2 separate regions of the Homo sapiens genome follow, and region 1 is linked to region 2. The links are contacts of gene promoters, found by promoter capture Hi-C in blood cells and fetal thymus (Javierre and others, 2016). All regions are on one chromosome and are shown on one strand. Each heading gives the region's core, a stretch centred on a gene start or on the middle of the fragment in contact. The rest is flanking DNA. Distances are from core to core; before and after follow the strand shown. Region 1 holds the start of UCK2 (uridine-cytidine kinase 2). Region 2 holds the start of LINC01675 (long intergenic non-protein coding RNA 1675).

Region 1 (4,346 bases), core at 571-3,070, 660 kb before region 2:
CCAAATTCCAATGGGCTATAAAGAGTTCTACAAAAGTCCATGATGACTAATAAATCTATCTAGTAGAGAAAAGACCTTTTGGAGAAGAGGCTAACTCTAGGACCACCTAAAACTCACCCACTCCATAGCTATTTGGTAAGGCACCCCTTTAGGAAACTTCACCCAAATGCCTGCTTCTGGGTACCAGGTAGTGGCCACTCTCCCCATCTTTGTCTCCTGTCTGAGCTGCTACCGAGTTTGATGTTAGATGGTGACATAAAATACAGTAATTCCTAGATATATGCGGAGGGACTGGTCCCAGGACAGCCTACATGTAACCAAATCCACACATGAAGTCCCACAGTCAGTCCTGAGGAAACTGCACAAATATTGTGTTTTCCATCTGCCCTTGGTTTAAAAAAAAAGCTGCATAAAAGTGAACCTCACAGTTTGAACCAGTGTTGTTCAAGTGTCAACTTTAATTTAAAAGTGAAAAAAGTTTGTTTTCTCTGGTATCCTTTTTTTTGTTTTGTTTTGTTTTTGTTTTTGTTTTTTGACACAGGCTCTGGCTCTGCTGACCAGGCTGGAGTGCAGTGGGGAGATCATGGCTCACTGCAGCCTCGATTTCCCTGGCTTGAGAGAAAATTATTTTTTTCAAAATAATCTTCAATTTAAGGTAATTTACTAAGTTTCAAAAGATAATGCTATTGACGTAAATTCTGTTTTAGATTGTAGGCCCCATCAGCTCATTGATACTAGTCCCAAGTTCACAGGAGAAGAGACTGGAAGTTACTAGGCTAGTCCTGCCTCTCTCAGGTGTGTCCCAGCAAAACTTTTCTTTCCAGTTTCAGCGCTTTAGAAACCTTTTCTCTTCAAACACTAATACAGGGCCTAGACTGTACCAGCACTGTTCTGAGAACTTTACATACACTAATTCATTTAATTCTCACAAAAATCCTGGGATGTAATTGCCATTATTATTCCCATTTAACAGATAAGAACACTGAAGCACAGAGAGATTAAGTAACTTGCTCAGGGACCTGGATGTGAATGCAGAAATCTGGCTCCAGAGGTGGAGTCTGAAACTGCCTTTCTAAGTGACTGATTGCCAATCTCTGGAAAACCGTTCAATTGAAGATATTAATGGATCAAAATGTCAGTATGTTTTCAGATACCCTAACTCCATAGGAAGCTCAGTGTATGGGATGAGATACTGTGGTTTAGAAGGGAATTGCTTTTCCAACGGAGGGCACCCTTCAGATAAGCCCCTCAAATTGCCCTTCACTAGAGAGTCGCACGAGGACAGGCCTGCTAAAAAGGATGGCGCTGGGGGGTTTCCAAGACAGGAAATATCTAAAGCCAGCGGCTGACATATTATCTTGGCGAACGGGAGAAGGGAAAAAGAACCCTCATTTTTTGGAAACACAAGTTTTTAGCCTGGATAATGGGTAAATGACATTAACTCTTCGTTCCACACTAATCTTTCAAGCTTGTTCAAATTTTGCTTCTCAAACCTGGGCCATTCCTTCTTATCTAATCTGCCTATTATTTCCTTCAAGCTTTTTATCCCTTCTGAAAATAGGTGGTAGCATACCAAATTAAAATACAGAACAGCCTGTTTCTTTCCCCCAGGGTCCACTAGGGCGCGTCGGAGAAAGGGTTAACCGGGCGGGTGGGAGGGAAGGTCGGGCTCACACCTTTCGCAGAGACCTCGGGCGGCGGCGGGGCCCGGGAGGGGCGGAGGCTGGGGCCAGACGCCTCGCCGCCTCCGCCTCGGCGAATAGCAGCGCGCTGCCCGCCCGGATTGGAGCAGCAGCATCACGCTGACCTCTGCCTGGGATGTAAACCGGACCAGCCGCTGCGGGCAAAGGAAGGCTCTTGGCTCCTTCGGGAAACCCAGCCCCGTCACCGGGCTCCGAGCGGCTCGCAGGCGAGCGACAGCGGCCTCAGCCCCGGCAGCGCCCAGCGGCGGCTGCGGAAAGCGGAGGGAGTCCGACGCGGGCGCGGGCGGGGAGCGTGCGTCCGTTCGCACAGGCAGCGGGAGGAGGGGCGGCGCGAACCATGGCCGGGGACAGCGAGCAGACCCTGCAGAACCACCAGCAGCCCAACGGCGGCGAGCCCTTCCTTATAGGCGTCAGCGGGGGAACAGCTAGCGGCAAGGTACGGCGGGGCCCGGAGCCGCGCTCCCTTCCCGGCTTCTGTCCCTGGGCGGCGCATGTGGCCGGCGGCCGCGGGCCGTGTCAGTTGCGGCAGCCACCGCGTGGCCCGCGCGCCTCCGCTCCCGGCCGCGCTCCAGCGCCGAGTGCGCCCCGCGCGGCCTGGGGGCGCTGCGGCGGGGGCAGGCGAAGACTCGGGCCTTGGGGGTTCCGGGGGTACGCGGCCACGATCGCAGGGCGGGAGTGCTCCTCCGGCTTTTCTCCCCCCGCGTTAATAACTCGTGGCCGGGGTCCTATGGGGGAAGGGCAGGGAAGCGGATGCTTATTGTTTTGCAACTCCAGTGTCGGGGGAGAGGGCTTTCCGCAGGATCCCCCACTAACCCCCGATGGACTCCCTCAAGCCCCGGTCTGGCACAGACGTGCTCGCCCCGCGGCGCAGCCTGGTGCCGAGGGCGGAGCGAGCCGGGAAGCGCGGCCGAGAGGGCGAGGGTGGCGGGAACGCGCGAGGCGGCATCCCGGGGAAGGGGAGCCCAGTGTGGGGCTGCACGCAAGGGCTGGGGATTACAGGGGTTTCCGGGTAAAAGTCTGAGAGCCAAATAGGTGCCGTGACATCAATGAAACGATAATAGTAGGGGCTTCTGTTTTTTAAGGTTATAAGAGGAAACGTGGTCGGCTTCAATGAGAAAGTTGTACTGGCTCCAAGCTCTTCGGTGTCCAGGACGTACGCGTCTTGGATCCACGGAAGGGGGTCATCGTATGGGTGTCTGACCCTCTTAGGAGCCTGTTTCCTTTGTTTTATCCGCAAGGCAAGGAGAGACAAGGGAAATGACTTCCTAGCTTTACCCGGGGTTTTTTCTGCAGGTGGAGAAGGGTGGAGTCCTCCCAGATGGTTCTTTCTTTGCTCCCCTAACAGCCTTTAAGATGTGGCTACTTGTTTTTCCCACCGTTTAACACCCTCCAACTTCATTTGGAGCACGGGTTCCTCAAGGGATCCTGAGAGCTGGGTGCTGGGTGCTGGTTTGGAGAGGCAGGATGATGCTTCTCCCGGCTGGGGAGAGCAGAGCAGGAAGGCTGGTTGGCGCCATGAGGAAAGAGCCACGAGGTTTTAGCTCCCGAACCGACTCGTCAGTAGCCCCTCCTCCATGTTGGTTTTACATTTTTCCCTCCTGGTCTGGACTACTTTAGCGCAAGGAGCCCAGCCAGACACGGCGGCTGGCGCTGCTGGACTTCTTTATTGATGAAGTTGATCTCGTCCGTAGCTCCCGGGGTTAGGAATCGGCCTGCTTTAGGTCCTGAAGTTTCTGTTCTGTGTGCTCCCTGGTTGAAGGCTTTTAAAAAAATTTGTAATTTTTGAGTATGTTCTTTACTATGACTTATACTAGTAATTCAAAGCAAAACCAGAATGCTAGCCCTTCAGGAAGCTTTACCTGTTCTTTTAGAATTATTCTTGCTCTTCTGGCATATTCCTGTTGGATTGGGAGCATTTTTTGTTGTTGTTGTTCATGGCTGTTTTCCCAGCCCTCCTAGCACAATGCCTGCCTGGCATGTAGTGGGGTCCAAATTTTAAGCTGAAGTCCAGTCCTCCTAAAGTGGGGAGGAGGCTTAAACTTGCATATGAGCTTTTAGAAACAAAATGATCTTGGTAATCATCTGAATAATTTAGTTACCACGAGGGTGAAAACTGCGACCCTAAAAGGTGAATAACTCTGTTATTGTTCTTCTTGTGTGTTTCTCAGTCGTCACCTGTTCTAACTTGATAATCAAGCTTTTGGTGTTACTTGGGTAAAGTGAGGGATGGGATAGTGGTGAGCCAATGTGGGAGTAGCTAATTCTCTGCTATTTTTATCCAGGAGGAAGAGTGTAGAAACTCTCAAGAAAGGAAGGGTCCGTTTTTCTGCAGTTTTCAAAGCATGTTGTACATTTTTATTTATTAATTTAATTTTTGAGACAAGGTCTCGCATTTCCACCTAGCCCAGAGTAAGTGGCACTGTCACAGCTCACTGCAGCCTCAGCCTCAACCTGGAGTAACTGGGAGTACAGGCTGGCACTATCATGACTGGCTAATTTTTTTGTTTGTTTGATTTGTTTTGTTTTTGAGACAGGGTCTCACTCTTTTGCCCAGGCTGGAGTGCCGTGGTGAGATCTTGGCTTACTGTACCCTCCACCTGTTGGGCTCAAGTGATCCTCCCACTTCAGCCTCCAGAGTAGCTG
Region 2 (4,550 bases), core at 626-3,125:
CCATAAACTCAAAACAAGATTTTAACAAGAATGCCACTAGCTGACTCAGGTACATTTCTAAGTGAAAAAGAATTTGATCACCATCATATGTTAGTAACAAGAAAAGTATTCAACCATCATAGCTGATAGGAATGTGGAGGTCAAGTTTGCCTTCATTTTACAGATGATGACTTTGGGATGGGGAAGAGACTCGGCCTGTGTTGTAGGTGAGACTTGTTGCAGAGCCTCACTAGAAAGGAGTTCAACAGCTCAGGGTTCCTCCACTTTGCCAGCCTCACCCTGAGCCAACTGCCCACATCAGCCCTCCCACTTCTTGCCCCTAACTCACTTTTCAGCCCACCCCTCTTCCCCCTGAGCACCCACCAACGAGGCTCTAAAATCACCAGTGAACTTTCAACTGCCAAAGCCAATAGGCACTTTCTGATTTTAGTCTTTCTTTAGCATCTGCCACATAATTGCTCCTGCCTTCTTTACACTGTCTCTTCCTTGGTCATTGATGTTCCCATAGTTGCCTGATTTCCTCCTACCATTCTTGTCATACCTAGTTTACTGATTTTCTGAGTCTTTTTCCTCTGTCCACCATCAAATATTAGTGTTTATATATTCATTTTCACACTTACTTAGACCTTAGTTCATGCCAGGCACTGCTGTCTTATAAATATACATTCATTTTATATAACACATGACAACCTTAGAAAATAGATTGGGGAAACTGAGGCACAGGAAGGCCGATCAATTTGGTGTGCTGCTTCCTACCATGTTATGCCATCTCTGAGATTACTAGAGCTCCCCTTGTGGCCCTCCTGGCTCCTGACTCAGCCTGTTCTCATGAGGTATGGTCTTAGTATGATCTGTATCCCAAATTTGTATGTCTAGACTTGACCCTTCTCTTGAACATCACATTCCAACAGCACATTGGATATGATAATCTGCATTTACCACCACAAGCATCACAAATGTAATGGCATCCAAACTGAATTCATCATCTCTCCATCCCCAACTTGCCCATTACTCTGTCTTATTATCTCAGGTGTGTGACGTTGGACAAATATCTTAGTGCTCTGGGCCTCAGTTTCTTCATCTGTATAATTACCAGGTTGAACTAAATAATCTCCATGAATGTTTTTACTTTAACATTCTTTAATGCTCTAAACTTCATGTCCCTGCACTGTCTCCAGGTTTTACTCTCTCTCTCCCTTTTAGACTTCCTTTATTCATTCACCAATTCTAAAAGCAATAATTGAGCATATTCTGTAAGCCAAACACAGGGCAGGACACTTGTTGAATAAGATAAGACCCCTGACCTCAGAACTGGAGAGAGGAATGTGAGTGAAGAAAGGCAGTTCATACACTCCAACAGGGTGGCCATTGTTGTCACATGTGTCCAAACAGAGGCCTGGAGGTTGGAGGGGTCACCACTGAGCCAGCCACCAAATCAGAGCCTGCCACCCAGCTTGTTGCTTCATTCTCCCTTTCTTCCACAACCAAGCAATCCAGCAGTCCCTGAGCTCTGTATCTCTGCCTCCTAAATGCCAGTGTTGTCTGCCTCCTCCATCTTTGCACGCCCTTACCTTCACTTGTCACTTACCCCCTTTCATTCTGATCACGTTTACTGCTTGATCTTTTCTCCACTATTTATAGGGTGATATTTCTAAAACCCCAACCTGACCATGGCACTGTCTTGTTTGAAAGCCTCCAGTGATGCTTCATGTCAGTAAGAAAAGTCTTCCTTATGACAAATACCACCTTCGCCAGCAGACCCCTGGGAACCTGTCTTCTCTCAGTACCTTGGCTTTTGTGCTGCACTCTGAGAATGCTTTAAGGACCTGTGGTTCCCTGCACATGGGTCTACTGCGGCTCACTTCTGTGCCTGTGCATGTGCAGATTCCTCAGTTGTTCTGACTCTTATCCATGTGATAAATTTCTATTGATTCTTAGAAACCTAGCTCAGATAACATCTCTTTTGAGAATCTTCTCTGTTCCTGCCTCTCTTGAAGTTATACATTTTTATTTCTTGTGACACTTACATTTCTTAAACGTATTTATGTTACTGCCTATAACATACTGCATTGTAATTATTGCTTAATGCTTGTCTCCCAGCTAGAGTATTGAGTTTGTTGGGTTTGGACGGTGCCAGGTTAATATTTGTTCCTTTAGCAATGCCTGGAGAGCAGCCTATACTAGGCTCACAGTAAAGGTTTGTTGACTGGATGACTGAGGGAAAAGCCACAAAAGCAAGGACTGGAGTATGTTAGAACATCCCTACAAGAGTCCAAAATCTGAAGTGACAACAATGCAGGCAGTTTTGGCTACATCATTGGCATAAAAAGAAAGGACAGCAGAAAGCAGCTCCAGGATTTGGAGTGAGAGGTGATGGTCCACTCCCATATATGCTGAGCCCTTCTGCACCTTCTCTTCTCACATGCATCTGTGTTTGCCCCAGGAGATGCATCAGATCACACTAGACTCTTTAGAGACACCTACAGAGCAATGTCAGCCACCTTCTCCCAGTGTTTTACTATTTGCCATTTAAGGACAGCATCAGGAAATGGAAATCTGTTTATGCAGCAAGATAGGTCTGTGAAGGTAGATAATTGACTGACTCAGGCCCTTAAATATATAATTCGAGAAATAAATCTTCTGCAAATGGAGGGTGTTCCGAAGGCTTTGTATGTTTCAGAAGGGATGGGCAATGTTTAATTTGTTGTCTTCCATTTCTCATGTCCTCCCCTTGCCTCAAGTTAGCTTCCTGGGAAATTCTCCAAACATCAGTCAGAAGCTGTCCTAAGGTGGCCCTTGGGTGAGCAGGGTAGAGAGTGCTTCAGCCAGCAATCTTTTTTGCTTGCTCACTCAGGTAGGCATCAAGCCAGAAAGACAGGTTGACCCCAACTGTAATGAGCTAAGCCTTTTGTAGAAGCCTCATCTTCTCTGTATGTTTTGTAGCAGAGATGGGCTAGCGTTTTGCCACTACTACAAATACTACAGCCACAAAACCAGAACTCTGATACCAGAAAACTGCTAAAATCAATAGCCTTCTTTATTATAGAGGGTCAGCTTCTGGATTTCCTGTGCATTATGCAGCCATGAGTGAAGCCCAGCCCCATCCTCTTCCAACTTCCCCACCATCTCCCACCGGCACCCAACATACACTCAAGGCTCTGGCCTCCATAGGACAACAGTGACCACCTTGTTGAAGTATATGAGCTGCCTTTCTTCACTTACCTTCTCCCCCGTGGAAATTCTTATTTTATTCAACCGTATATCCTCAGGGCTCAGACCAGGGATTGGCCCATTGAATATGCTCAATTATTGCTTATAGAATTGATGAATGGATAAAGAACATTTAAAAGGGAGAGAGATAGAGAGTAAATCCCAGAGACAGTGCAGGGACAAGAGGTTTAGAGAATTAAAGAATACTAAAGTAAGAATGTTTATGGAGACTACTTAGTTTAACCCATTATTTATACACATAAGAGAACTGAAGCCCAGAGAGATAAAGAGATTTGTCCAAGAATATTCATATGGTCAGCAGTTGTTTACATTTGAAGGGAGTAAATGTAAATCATTTAGGTCTTAAGCCAATTCTTTCCCCCTTCCCTCCCTGTAACCACTGTTTCTCAATGAAGGATGAAGGTCCATAGAATTAATAATTTCATCTATACCACTAATATTTATTGAGCCTATATCATGTGCCAGGCCCTGTTCTAGGATCTAGGAATAGGGAAATACACAAAACCAACAAAAGCCCTTATGTTTCTGGAGCTTACAGATTCTGGCGAAAGAGGTTTATATAAAGTAAAATAGACAATTATATAGTTAGAAGAGATTGTGACATGGGAAAGAAAAGGGCGTAATAAGAAAGAGGAAGAGCAGGGGGCCAGAAAGGGACTTGGAAAGTGGCATTTGAGAAAGAGCAAAGACTTGAAGGTAGAGAGGGTGCATTGGCACTATTTAGGGGAAGGATGCCTAGGTCCAGGGAAAAGCAAGGGCAAAAGCCCTGAGTCAGGAGTGTGCCTGGCATGTCTGAGGTGTGGCATGTTCAGTGTGTGCAAGGGGAAGAAGTGAAGGGTGAGGTCATTGAGAGAGAGAGAGAGAGAGAGCAAGAGAGAGCTAGAGAGCCAGTTAAACTGTGAAGCTCCTCGTGGGCCACTGTAAGCAGCCTGACTTACTCTGTGAGATGAGAAGCCACTGGGAGGCTTTGAGCAGATGAGTGACTTATGAGTTCAGCAGGTAACTCTGACTGCTATGTTTTGAAGAGATTATAGGTGGAAATAAGACGAGAAGTCTTCTCCCAATGGAAGGTCTTTTCTCGATCGAAGGGTTCCTGGTCTCACGGGCTTCCAGGAATGAAGCCGTGGGCCGCAGTGGCGAGTGTTACAGCTAGATTAGAGAAACCCGCGGACCCAAAGAGGGTGCGGTGGCAAGATTTATTAGAGCAAAAGCGAAAGTAAAATGAAAGCAAAAGTAAAGCTTCCACGTGGTGGAAGGGGACCTGGAAGGGCTGCCGTTTTTTTGCTTCTGTCTTATGCTTATGTCCCCTTATGACCCCT

The links. Contacts are between HindIII fragments. The CHiCAGO score rates a contact against its expected background, and 5 or more counts as called.
Region 1: the fragment with the promoter of UCK2 here is called in contact with a fragment that was not itself captured in region 2 in 1 of 17 cell types (activated CD4 T cells); the score reaches 5.2 in activated CD4 T cells.

What each region holds. Positions count from the first base shown.
Region 1 is chr1:165,825,794-165,830,139 of GRCh38, forward strand. UCK2 (uridine-cytidine kinase 2) reads left to right here and starts at 1,821. Exons shown (of 7, transcript NM_012474.5): 1 at 1,821-2,139. The coding sequence starts at 2,041. RefSeq lists silencers at 1,610-1,859, 1,940-2,419, 2,480-2,709 and an enhancer at 2,175-2,728. The HindIII fragment of the contact is 2,018 bases long and covers 1,537-3,554 here.
Region 2 is chr1:166,485,692-166,490,241 of GRCh38, forward strand. It overlaps LINC01675 (long intergenic non-protein coding RNA 1675), which reads right to left and starts at 4,348. Exons shown (of 3, transcript NR_146890.1): 1 at 4,170-4,348. RefSeq lists an enhancer at 4,351-4,520. The HindIII fragment of the contact is 5,186 bases long and covers 1-4,468 here.